4 separate regions of the Homo sapiens genome follow, and regions 2, 3 and 4 are each linked to region 1. Evidence: promoter capture Hi-C in human tissues and cell types (Jung and others, 2019). All regions are on one chromosome and are shown on one strand. Each heading gives the region's core, a stretch centred on a gene start or on the middle of the fragment in contact. The rest is flanking DNA. Distances are from core to core; before and after follow the strand shown. Region 1 holds the start of ABRA (actin binding Rho activating protein). Region 2 overlaps ZFPM2-AS1 (ZFPM2 antisense RNA 1). Region 3 overlaps ZFPM2-AS1 (ZFPM2 antisense RNA 1). Region 4 overlaps ANGPT1 (angiopoietin 1).

Region 1 (3,206 bases), core at 317-2,816:
TAAGGAAGATTGTGTTACTAAAAACAAAAGGGGCCAGACGTGGGGGCTCACATCTGTCATCCCAGCACTTTGGGAGGCCAAGGTGGGAAGACTGCACAAGCTCAGGAGTTTGAGACCAGCCTGGGCAACATAGCGAGACTCCGTCTATATAAAACAAAAACAAAAACAATTAGCTAGGCATGGTGGCTCATGCTTGTATTCCCAGCTGCTTGGGAGACTGAGGCAGGAGGACTGATTGAGCACAGGAGGTCAAGGCTGCAGTGAGCCATCATCACACCACTGCACTCCAGCCTGGGGACACAGCAAGACCTTATCTCAAAAAACAAAACAAAACAACAACCACAAACCAAACGGTAAGGGTAGGCGGGATGGGGATAAGAAGTGAGCTACCGATAGCTTTCATTTATTCTGTCCTTAGAATTCTGTCCTTAGATGATCTTTTCAAACAAAGTATTTCAAAATATGTATTCCAACAATAATTTCTTTCTTTCTTTCTTTCTTTTTTTTGAGACGGAGTCTCGCTCGTCACCCAGGCTGGAGTGCAGTGGCTCGATCTCCGCTCACTGCAAGCTCCGCCTCCCGGGTTCACAGGATTCTTCTGCCTCAGCCTCCCGAGTAGCTGGGACTACAGGCGCCCGCCACTACGCCCGGCTAATTTTTTGTATTTTTAGTAGAGACGGGGTTTCACCATGTTAGCCAGGATGGTCTCGATCTCCTGACCTCGTGATCTGCCCGCCTCGGCCTCCCAAAGTGCTGGGATTACAGGCGTGAGCCACCTCGCCCGGCCTCCAATAATAATTTCTAAAATCCAATGTGTATACAGGTTTTAAAAACATTTTTTAATGATTGGACCAAAATTTTGACTCCCTTTTTGTATTTTAATATGAGTTATCTATACAATAGTTCAAAGTTGGGACTAGAAAGTAATTAGTCTTTGACTATCTGGACTTTGGTCTTTCTCGTATCTGGGCTTCAATTTTCTCATTTGGAAAATGAAGATTGGATGAGTTGATTTTCTAAGGTCTATTTCTAATGGAGTTGAATGAAAAAGAAAAAGGCAACTTAGGATCTTTGATAACTGGAATAAAAGGAGGCACACGCTTTGAATTACACAGAGATGGATTTGAATCTCATATTTTATTAGCTGCTGGAAGTTAGATTTTATTTTACTTAGCTATAAAGTGGAACTAATTAGGAGCTGTACTGAGGGCTGCTGGGGTTTAAGTGGGAACAATCCTATAATGTTCCCAGGATAATATGTATGCACCTATAAATGGTAGGACCATATTAAGGTCAGACAAACGTAAGGCTGAGCACATGACTTGATCTAGTAATTTCCACTCTGGCACTTGGAGAAGAGAGTGAGCATATCACTGTTCCTTACCAGCAGAGATGTCCCTCTGCCGTGATGAAACTGGAGCTGTCATGATTTATAAAAAGAACACCATCAGGGCAAAGGCGCCACATCTTGGCAAGAAATGCTTCACATAGTTTCCATCGTCACTAAGCTCTCCTTCCCACCCCGCACCCTGCTTCTATTTAAATCCCAGGCACTCCACTGGACCACACTCATTTTAGCCAGTGTCCAGGCTATCAGCAGAGAAAGACAGGTGGGCAGCATGGCTCCGGGCGAAAAGGAAAGCGGGGAGGGCCCAGCCAAGAGCGCCCTCCGGAAGATACGCACAGCCACCCTGGTCATCAGCTTGGCCCGAGGTTGGCAGCAGTGGGCGAATGAGAACAGCATCAGGCAGGCCCAGGAGCCTACAGGCTGGCTGCCGGGAGGGACCCAGGACTCACCTCAAGCTCCTAAACCAATCACACCCCCTACTTCACACCAGAAAGCTCAGAGTGCCCCAAAGTCGCCACCCCGCCTGCCAGAAGGACATGGAGATGGACAAAGCTCAGAGAAAGCCCCTGAGGTTTCTCACATCAAAAAGAAAGAGGTGTCCAAAACGGTGGTCAGCAAGACTTATGAGAGAGGAGGGGACGTGAGCCACCTCAGCCACAGGTACGAGAGGGATGCTGGTGTGCTTGAACCTGGGCAGCCAGAGAATGACATTGACAGAATCCTCCACAGCCACGGCTCCCCAACGCGGAGGAGAAAATGTGCCAACCTGGTGTCTGAGCTAACCAAGGGCTGGAGAGTGATGGAGCAGGAGGAGCCCACATGGAGGAGTGACAGCGTAGACACAGAGGACAGCGGCTATGGAGGAGAGGCTGAGGAGAGGCCCGAGCAGGATGGAGTGCAGGTGGCTGTGGTCAGGATCAAGCGCCCCTTGCCCTCCCAGTAAGTGAATGCATTCTCCCACTCCTTGTGTCAGGATCACTATTGAGCCCCAACCAAGTCTGGGAATCCAGGCAGCAGATGAAGTCCTGCCAGGGTTAGAGTGAGAATCTCAAAGACTGGACAGGCAGTGAGTACTGTAGAGGAGGGATGTCCCTGGGCTGAAGGTCAGTGCCAACCTTAGACATGGACCTTTTGGTCAGGGCCTGCGCTATTTTGTTTCTCGTTTTTGTTTTGAACTGAACACTCAAGTCTTAGCCTCAACAAAGATGAAGCCATCAGAGAGGGAAGCCTGTTTTTCGTGAATTCTTTAAGTCAGTTCTATAATGAGTAACAAATTGGCTTATTTCTTTAGAGATAAGAGTGGTTTCTGATAGACTCATTGGGGAAACTTTTACCTTGTCCCAAATGTCTATGCTATTATCAGGAGATACGTCTGCTTCAATAACACCCATGGAATACAAATCTCTGACTCTAAACAGGTGGAGGCTGCTGTCTAATTTGAAAGCAGGCTCTGAATGAAGTCAGACAGACCCAAGTTCAAATCCTAGTTCTGCCCCTAACTAGTCATTTTTAAAGGTGATTTCATCAGCTGGGCGCAGTGGCTCAGCCTGTAATCTCAGCACTTTGGGAGGCTGAGGAGGGCGGATCACTTGAGGCCAGGAGTTTGAGACCAGCCTGACCAACATTGGTGAAACCCCATATCTACCAAAAAACACACAAAAATAGCTAGGCACAGTGTTGTGCATCTGTAATCCCAGCTACCCGGGAGGCTGAGGCATGAGAATGGCTTTAACCCATGAGGCTGATGTCGGAGTGAGCCAAGATCATGCCACTGTACTCCAGCCTGGGCAACACAGCAAGACTCTGTTTCACATAAAAATTAAAAAAAGCAGATTTCCTCATTTGTAAAATGACAGCA
Region 2 (3,206 bases), core at 245-2,744, 860 kb after region 1:
TCTTTTCCAAGTTCTTTCCCAAAAAATATTTATCACCTGATGAAAAATGCAAAGCATTTAGCAACACAATCAGGGTAACATATATGAAAACGTTATGCTTTTCAGAATTTTCTCACTTTGAACACTTAAACCTGATTATTTAGGAAAGTCCACAAAAGCCTCCCAAACTCAATATAGCTTCCTTAGCTTCTTAGTATGATTATATTCAATAGTATTATATTTCCTCTAAGATGGTACAGACTGGTAATAAGGACAGATTTTACAGAAAATTAGCTCTTCTAATCCTGAGACCTAAGTTATGGACAAAAAAGAAGATAAGTGGAAACTGAGTTGCTTTTAGTACATTCACTTGATTTTATTAAATTTTTATTAATCACTAATTCATTTACTCAATAGATGTTTTTGAAATACCTACCTTTAAGTATATGTGAAACCAGGGATAAAAGCTACCATTTATTGAATGACTATTGTGTGCTAATATTGGGTGAGATATTCTACATACATATTTACGCTGTTAATCAAGTTAGGCCTCCAGAGTCTGACCATAAACAATAATCCTGTTAATTAAGACAGCATGAGTGAAAATGTCCATGTCCATTCCCATGTTCATCACAATCTTTGAGTATTTGCTTCCATTCTGCACTCCCTCTAACTGGTAGAAATAAGGTGCTCATGAATTTTTCCAGGTGAGTTTGCGTACAAACATTGGTAAAACAAGGTTCCAATCAGATTTTTCTTTTTGCCTCAGAATTAATGTCGGGACACTGATGGAGTCTGCTGATAGTATTAAAGTTCTTAAAAAGTATAAGAAATTCTTGCTTAAGGATTGGTATCAATCTTCCTAATAATTTAATTGCTTTTTTTAACTTATACTAGTTTGAGTACATTTTTGTTCTTTTAAAACAAGTGTTTCCTAAGATAATATATAAACAGAGAAGTAGGCCCATGTGGGAGGGAATTCATCAAGTAGATGAACATCTTTGTAGTAACAATGAGACCAGAGAAAGACATCTACAAATGTGATATTTTAAAAATAATGTTAACAATTAATGTTTATATAAAGCTTTAAATTTGCAATGCATATTTACATAAATAATCTTACTTGATCTTCTCAATTACCTAGTGAAATAATCATCCAATTTCATATGTGAAAATCATCCACAATAAGTTATTTGCCAAAAGTTACAACTAATAAGTGGTTGGTCCAGGGTTATATGCCAGATTCTCTCATTATAAACCTTTAGTTCTTTCCATAGTATCGAGGCTTCTATGTTATCACTTGTTCTTTATAAAATGCTTGACTAAATGGAGGTTCCTACATCTTATGATCTTATGATCATCAGTTCCTAAAGGACAGAATTTCAACAAATTGAGATAGTCACATTATGTCAATTATCTGCCACTCTAAAAATAATATCTACACTGCAGTTCTTAAAAGAATAATAGGAAAAAATAGACTTAAGAAACACGTATGTTAAGAGGAATATCAGAAAAAGGGATACAGGAAGTAATTATTCCAATTACCAAGTATTTGTTCATGTATAGAATGATTCACTGCCGGCTCCATTAAATAATATTCATTAGATGAACTTTAATTTATACAAATTAAATTTCCGTAAAACGTCATAGAGATATAGGTCATTACAGAGTTAAAAAAAATGCAAAGTCATCTAATCTAACTAAAACTATTTCGTAAAGTGGAACAAATGTGATTTTATTATCCAACTATTTGCTGTTTGTTATCTTCCAAGGAAACTGTGATTTAATTGATTTCTATAAATGCTTATTGGGTATGCAGGGCATGTACCTAGAAACTGGAAGCATATCATTACAATAACCCATGGGCCCCTGATTTCCAGTGAAAACAATACACAAATGCTTGTATGACAAGGTGGATTTTGGCAAGCACTACACTAACAGTATAACATGTAATAGAGGAACTGGGAAAGAAAATATTTAATTCAAACTTAAGTGCTCTGGAAACCCTCCAATGAGGAAATATAAGGGAACATGAAGTATTAAAGTCTTAAAGGGTGATCAACACCCATATTTCAATTTAAAGAGATTTTTATTTCTATTTAACTGTTTTTAAGATCCTGATTGGTTAAGCTCAATTTTGTAAATCCAAGCTCTCAGTGATAATTATATTTAACTCTCTATGTATTGACTGTTAATGGAGCATGCATGTAAATTATGACCAATATGTTAGGATCTACAAGACAATAAACTGCATCCATCTTTTCCAATAAACAAATAGGTAAATATAAAGACAAGTCCAAACTAACATCTATACAATTGATATAGGCCAGTTTAGAAGGTGATGGATTAACGTGGGATCCAAATGCACTACTTTTATGTTATGCAAGCCCCAGAATAAGAAGATTGACTCATCAGTCACAGCAGCATTGGTCTTCTACCAACCTTTACCTCCCTTCCTGTGAGCAGAGCAGGGAGAAGATGGAAATGGTGGCGAAGGAGGTTGGAGCTCAGCTAAGCAAAGGAGGTAACCCTTCACGAGTTTACTTTGCAAACAACTCACTTCCACTCCCCCGGGGAAAGGAAAATAAAGAACAGAGAGGTGCAAGGAATGTGAGAATGTGCCTCTTCATGGAAACCAGGAGTGAGGAAATTATATTCCATTGCTAATATCCCATGAGATGATTCTGATTATTAGGGAAGATATATATCTTTTGGGATTATTTGCAGTCTTTTTCCTATAAATTGCCAAGCTTATACTTTTTTAAGAATGGTCAATTTTTTTTAGAAAGGTGTTTAATTATCTTTTTTTATATTTGTAAGATCTAAATAAATAGTATGACAGTAGATATAAGAATAAGTGACATAGTCAGTAACTGTTGTCTCACATATATAACCTCTAAATTTCTTTTTTTTTTTTTCACTTTGTATAATCCACCTCTCCTCTTTGGTGGGGATTGGCCTGAGTTTCAGGAGTGAGGTATCTTTTACTCAGTGGTAGATATAACTGAAACAAAAAAAGGTAAAAAGAAGAGGAAGAAAACCGATGAAATAGGGAAAAGTAATGAAAGAAAAAAATTGACTTGGAGGAATTCTAGAAACACATTTTGACTTTTACCTTCTAAACCAGTGGATGGTTGAGCAGATATGCAGGCATCTAAAGAAGCCAGAGGAGTGGTAATTATTCCTGGATTCTCTGCAGACAATTCAGTCCATGAATATCAATAACT
Region 3 (3,206 bases), core at 468-2,967, 830 kb after region 1:
GAAGTGGCTTGAGCCGAGATTGCGCCATTGCACTCCAGCCTGGGCAACAAGAGCGAGACTTCATCTATGTATATGTATATATATATATATATATATATATATATATATATATATATATATATATATATATAAAGTTAGATGGTAGTTGTGGAAAGGGTATGGGCCTTGAACTCATACCAAAGAGGCCAGAACTGGTGGCTCACACCTGTAATCCCAGCACTTTGGGTGTTCATGGCGGGCAAATTGCTTGAGCCCAGGAGTTCAAAACTAGCCTGGACAACGTGGCAAAACCCCATCTCTACAAAAAATAATAAAATAAAATAAAACCAGCTGGGCCAGGTGGCTCACACCTGTGGTCCCAGCTACTTGGGAGACTGAGGTAGGAGAAATAGCTTGAATCTAGGAGGTCGAGGGTGCAGTGAGCTGAGATTGTGCCACTGCACTCCAGCTTGGGCAACAGAGCAAGACCCTATCTATAAAGAAAAGAAAAGAAAAAAAAAAAAGAAAAAAGAAAATCATACAAAAGAGTTTAAATCCTTACTTTTGTCATTTACCCACTGGGTGGCTTTGGAAAAGCCATTCAAAATCATTTGAATGATAGTTTAATCATTTATAAAAAGATGACTGTAATATCTCAGAAGATCATTGAGGCCATTAATGGAAAATATATGCAAAACAACTGAGGATCTGACATGTAATCAATAAATTGCCTGCATAATATTAAATTGGAGTCTGAATGTAATTGCCATCAGCATCTCACACACATCTCAAGACAAAATTGTTGTTTTTTGTACTGTGTACAAGTACTCATTGAGTGGGGCCAATTTTTGGATTTAGAACTTTTCTGACGAAAGCACTGATTGAGTCCTTCAACATTTTCTTAGTTTTTTCTTTTTTTTTTTTTTTTAACACATCTGATTGTCTCCTGGTGATGTAGATTCTATGTTCATAAAATGCTCACTGACTCAATGATACAATTCCCTCTTTAGTTGTTTACTATTAAAAAACATATTTCAAGAGAACACAACTCCAACCACAAAAGCATTTTGAGGAAAGTGAAAATCAACAAAGGAGCAGGACCTGCACTGTGGAATGTATTTCTAGGCATTGACAAGCCAACATATTTGATTCTGTTTAAGAACCTTCTGTAAATTTTGGAGTCCTCATTAAGTACAGAAACAAAAATGAGGAAAAAACTGCCAAGCGGGGTTTGGATTTGTATTTTCATATGTTATCTCATGTATTAGTCTATTTTCACACTGCTATAAAGAAGTACCCAAGAATGGGTAATTTATAAAGGAAAGAGGTTAATTGACCTCTTCCACATGGCTAGAGGAGGCCTCAGGAAACCTATAAACATGGCAGAAGGTGAAGGGAAAGCAAACACCTTTTCACATGGTGGCAGGAGAGAGAAGATTGAGTAGCGAAGGGGGAAGATCCCCTTATAAAACCATCAGATGTCGTGAGAACGAACTCACTATCATGAGAACAGCATGGGGGAAACTGCTCCCATGATCCAATCACCTTCCACTGGGTCTTTCCCTAAACACATGAGGATTATGAGGATTACAATTCAAGATGAGATTTGGGTGGGGACACAGCCAAACCGTGTCATATCAATAGACCTGCTCTTGGTTTCAATTGGATAAACTTAGACTTAGATATTGTAAGTATGCATTTCCAGAGCAGCATTACAAATATTTGAAATGGTACATTTGGATCAAGTAAAAAGAACTAGCTTCTTATACACTTTTATTAAGAAGTTATTTATCATCTACCTTTGATCGTATCCTCTTAGGAAAAAACATATTTACATTTTTGTTCATTGGGCAAATATTTATCTCATTTACTTGTGTATTTCTTATAAGCCACCGATTTGCAATATGCTACATTTACATTTTCTCATTTGTTGCATCAGTTATAAAGGAGGAGGAAAGGAATAATAGGATTTGTTTGGTAATTTGTACTCTTACAGCTTTCTCTGAGTAGTTGTCCCAAAGCATTAAAAAATGCTTCAGAGTCTTGCATAAATTGTAACTGCACTGATATGCTTTCTTTCTTTTCTCACAAGGAGAAAGGTTATTAAAAACAGAGAAAGATCAGACTCTTCAACGCATTCTGAAGAGTGTCTCACACAGGGAATAAACTCAATAAGCAGTTGGTTAATATAAAAATGAATAGATGAATGAATCAGAATGTTTAAATATGTTATTTAAGAATCTATGATCTTTTCCTAAAAATATTATTTCTATAGTTCAGAAAACATTAAAAATTCAGTATCATGAGAAAAATGAAGTGTTTCATTAAGCATTCAATCAAAAAAAAATGAAGCTGACCACTTATAACCCTAAGCATGTTGAAAATGGTATTATTTCCAAAATTGATTATACACTATTCAAGCTGAGGGGGTCACCATTCTCAGTGTAAATGACTGTATTGTAATTTTATACAACGAGGCTCCCAGGGCTAATCCAACAGGTAGGACTTAGTCATGGAATATTGGATATTCAGGTTTCCTTTTTTGTTATTTTGCTTTTTGGAGACAAGGTCTTGCTCTTTTGCCAAGACTAAAGTGCAATGGCACAATCATGGCTAATAACAACCTAGACATCCTGGGCTCAACAGATCCTTCCATCTCAGCATCCCAAGTAGCAGGGACCACAGGCATACACCAACATGCCCAGCTAAGGTTTTAAATTTTTTGTAGAGGCTGGGTCTTGCTACGTTGTCCAGTCTAAAATTTCTTACCACCAATTTTTAGATTTTATTTTTGTCTTCCCCATCACACTTAGGCTGAAAGCACTTACTGTTTGTTGCAAAAGGTATCTGTCTTTAGAAGCATTCATTTGTCCTCTTATTATTGCTGGCCTTTCATGTTTTTTGAGTTTCTAAACTAGATCATTCAACACTTCAGATCACATGTAAAATGTCATGGGCATTCCTATGAATTAAGTGCATGAATTTTATGATATCTTTTTGTAATGTCCAGATTATTTTGCTCATTTTTTGAGTACTTGGCCAATCTAAGCCACTGAGTTCACCGGACTGGCCAGAATAATTTAAGTATTGCCATCATCACATCGTACAGGTGCTGCTAACTAGCAAGCTGTTCTTAATCATTGACATCTCTCTTTTTTTCTAGGCCAGATCCTTCTGTATAAATTAACAATAATTCGGCTGGGCATGGTGGCTCACACCTGTAATCC
Region 4 (3,206 bases), core at 349-2,848, 710 kb before region 1:
TTACTTTGAGGCAGATTGCAGAATTTGAACCCATACTCTGAGTGGTTAAATCTGAAGCTCTTCACTCTTCTTGCCTCTTTCACTTTTCTTTCACAAATTACAACAAATTCTGAATGGTGGGGAGCAGGGAAGAGATTCAGATGAATGATGATGTCTTGTAAGTTTTTGGAGAATCTATCCATACTAAATAACCATCTTTGGCAATGAGAATAATTTACCATACATGTGTATAAATTGCTGTAAGAAGCCTGATGTTCTTAGGGAAAATGCTTCCTAGGCATCTTTCCCATCCCAGCACAATTCTTAAAAAACTTTCACAAATATGTCAGAGGCAAATAATTCATTGCTATTTTTACTTTTCTTTTTAAATAAATGAGCTACTTAGACAAATTGCCTTAGTTGGAGTTATCCTGATATGAGCATACAAATAAAGATAATATTTTAAAACAGCTTATCTGTATTTTTGTTCAGGAACACTTCATTACAGTATTAGGTTGTATTTCTTATATTTCTTTCAGCTAAAAAACAAATAAAAAATAAAATATAGTCAATAGAGGAGAATCATTTAACATCTTCAACATTAATAAATTGGGTACTATTTGTAATATTCTGGGGAAGAGTCATCACTTAAAAGACCTTATGCCATATATGTTTTGAATTTTTTTAAAAGTTCATCAGTATGATAAGAATATGAAAAAAGTAGTCACTGATCTCCAGTCTATGCTTAGAAAAAAAGAAAAGAAAATTAATAAACACTTGTGAAGGTGAAACTGTCAGTATCTCTTACTGACAGTCAAGATAAACTAATGTACTAAGGAGACCTTGGTTCAAATAAATGATAAAAGCTGACAATAGCAGTGGAAAACTCATACTCAGCCTTCAACAAGGAAAGCTCTTAACTGAGAATTGAATATAGAGAGAAACTAAGAAGTCTTCCTGTCAAAGAGGAAAAAGAAATTTTTATTTTATGACTGTTATGTTTCATATGAGACTAAAGCTTACATACTTTGAGTTCACAAATCAAACTTGTGCAATTTGCAAGGAAAAGGTCATTAGGGAAATGAATTACCCTGAACATAAATTATCTCTATATAGTATCCTACTATTTTGAAATGTCTTCCATTGGATCTAATTTTGAAGATTATGGCCAAAAAGATATCATAAACAACTAAAGAATTCAAATAAACTCTATAAGCCTATTTTAAAGTTTTTTTTTAATGTTTCAAATAATTCACCAAATATTTGGAAAGCTCCTTTTCTGGTCAGATACAAAATATCCTCTTGTGAAAAATGAGATTAATGTATGTTTGTTCCTCCTCTGATTACTGGGCATTTGAGAAATCAATGGCGAAGTGGTGATTTTCATCAGAAGGACACATCATTCCAACCCATTCATTCAGTGGAGGTGTTCTGGAATCTTTAAGGAAGATCGAGTTTAAAAAATTATATATAGTTTTTAAAAGTTAGAACAAAACACACCCACCTCACCATATTTGAGTAATAAAGCTATGTAAAGACATACAGTTATTTCTTTTTTAATTTAACAAGGTAGAAAAAGTACAAGTAATAGGTAGAGAACAGGACTGGATGGTAAATGATTATAATAGCACTTCCTGTCTTATATGCCACCCTCTCATGAAGAGTTCCCCTCCCCTTGAATCTGGCTGGGCCATAAAAGGGAATTGAATTCCCATCTTGTGCACTACAATACTCATGCCCTGAGCTACTGTGTTAGAAGTCCATATACCCCAAGGCCATGGTGTTGTGAAGAAGTCAAGCCACATGGAGAAGGCATGTGTAGGTGCTGTGGTTAGTGAGTCTCCATATTTGAGTCACCTCAACTCAGGCTCTAGACATGGGAGCAAATGAGCCTTCAAAGCTTTCTGGTCCCCACCCATTGCACTATCTCTAGATTCGGAAAAGGTTCAGAACATCATGGAGTAGAAACAACCCATCCCTACAGTTCCTTTTCTGAAATCCTGACTCATAGAGTCTGACAGCCCAATGAACATAATCAAATAGTTGTTACAAACTACTAAATTTGGAGGGTAATATGACGGAACTTCAAAAAATTCATGGAAGAAAATAATTGAAAGATAAAAATGAAAATGTAAACTTTATTTCTTAACATAAGCTACATCAGGTTCAACTCACTCATATAAGCCGTGATACCAGCCATCTTAGTCCATCCCTAAAGAACTGAAGGTCCGGGAATTTAATCATTATCAATGCAGTCTTTTTTTCATTATTAACTGAAGGGAAATAAGTACCTGATATGGTTTGGCTGTGCCCCCACCCAAATATCATCTTGAATTGTAGTTCCTATAATCCCCACGTGTTGTGGGAGAGACCTCATAGGAGGTGAATTCGATTATGGGGGCAGTTTTCCCATGCTGTTCTCATGAGAGTGGGTGAGTTCTCACGATAGTGAGTGAGTTCTCACGGAATCTGATGGTTTTATAAGGGGCTTCCCCCTTCGCTCGGGACTCATTCTCTTTCCTGCAGCCCTGTGAAGAGATGCCTTCTGCCAAGATTGTAAGTTTCCTGAGGCCTCCCCCCAGACACTGGGAACTGCGGGTCAGTTAAACCTCTTTTCTTTATAAATTACCCAGTTTCGGGTATTTCTTCATAGCAGCATGAGATTGGACTAATATAGTACCTTTTACAGATTTTCTTTTCTTCTTCCTTTTTTTTTTTTTTTTTTTTTTTTGAGACAGAGTCTTGCTTTGTTGCCAGGCTGGAGTGTAGTGGTGTAATCTTGGCTCACTGCAACCTCTGCCTCCCAGGTTCAAGTGATACTCCTGCCTCAGCCTCCCAAGTAGCTGGGACTACAGGAGCCCGCCACCGCGCCTGGCTAATTTTTTGTATTTTTAGTAGAGATGGGCTTTCACCATGTTGGCCAGGATGGTTTCGATCTCTTGACCTCGTGATCCACCTGCCTCAGCCTCCCAAAGTGCTGGGATTACAGGCATGAGCCACCTCACCTGGCCCCTTTTACAGATTTTTAAAGAGTAAGAAACAAAAAAGTCAGAAAGAGCCAAATCAGGACTGTAAGGTGGATGCCTAATGCTTTTTCATGGAAAGTCTTGAAAAATTGCCCTTGTTTGATGAGATGAATTAGCACGAGCATTGTGGTTGTGAAGAAGGACTCTGCTGAAGTTTCTCTGGATGTTTCCATGCTAAGCATTGGCAAACTTTCTCAAAAC

Evidence for each region. The method cuts DNA at HindIII sites, captures the fragments that hold promoters and counts their contacts. A contact is called where the count stands out against the background at its distance.
Region 2: a fragment that was not itself captured here is called in contact with the fragment with the promoter of ABRA in region 1 in 1 of the 25 tissues and cell types used here (dorsolateral prefrontal cortex).
Region 3: a fragment that was not itself captured here is called in contact with the fragment with the promoter of ABRA in region 1 in 1 of the 25 tissues and cell types used here (lymphoblastoid cells).
Region 4: a contact is called between a fragment that was not itself captured here and the fragment with the promoter of ABRA in region 1, in 1 of the 25 tissues and cell types used here (mesendoderm cells).

Annotation. Positions count from the first base shown.
Region 1 is chr8:106,768,604-106,771,809 of GRCh38, reverse strand. It overlaps ABRA (actin binding Rho activating protein), which reads left to right and starts at 1,566. Exons shown (of 2, transcript NM_139166.5): 1 at 1,566-2,287. The coding sequence starts at 1,620. The HindIII fragment of the contact is 12,258 bases long and covers 1-3,206 here.
Region 2 is chr8:105,912,080-105,915,285 of GRCh38, reverse strand. The region is part of intron 2 of ZFPM2-AS1 (ZFPM2 antisense RNA 1); the gene reads left to right. Among named protein-coding and RNA genes, the nearest start is that of ZFPM2-AS1, 150 kb to the left of the region's middle. The HindIII fragment of the contact is 3,555 bases long and covers 1-3,206 here.
Region 3 is chr8:105,935,617-105,938,822 of GRCh38, reverse strand. All of the region lies in intron 1 of ZFPM2-AS1 (ZFPM2 antisense RNA 1), which reads left to right. Among named protein-coding and RNA genes, the nearest start is that of ZFPM2-AS1, 120 kb to the left of the region's middle. The HindIII fragment of the contact is 5,725 bases long and covers 1-3,206 here.
Region 4 is chr8:107,481,037-107,484,242 of GRCh38, reverse strand. All of the region lies in intron 1 of ANGPT1 (angiopoietin 1), which reads left to right. Among named protein-coding and RNA genes, the nearest start is that of ANGPT1, 15 kb to the left of the region's middle. The HindIII fragment of the contact is 4,650 bases long and covers 1-3,206 here.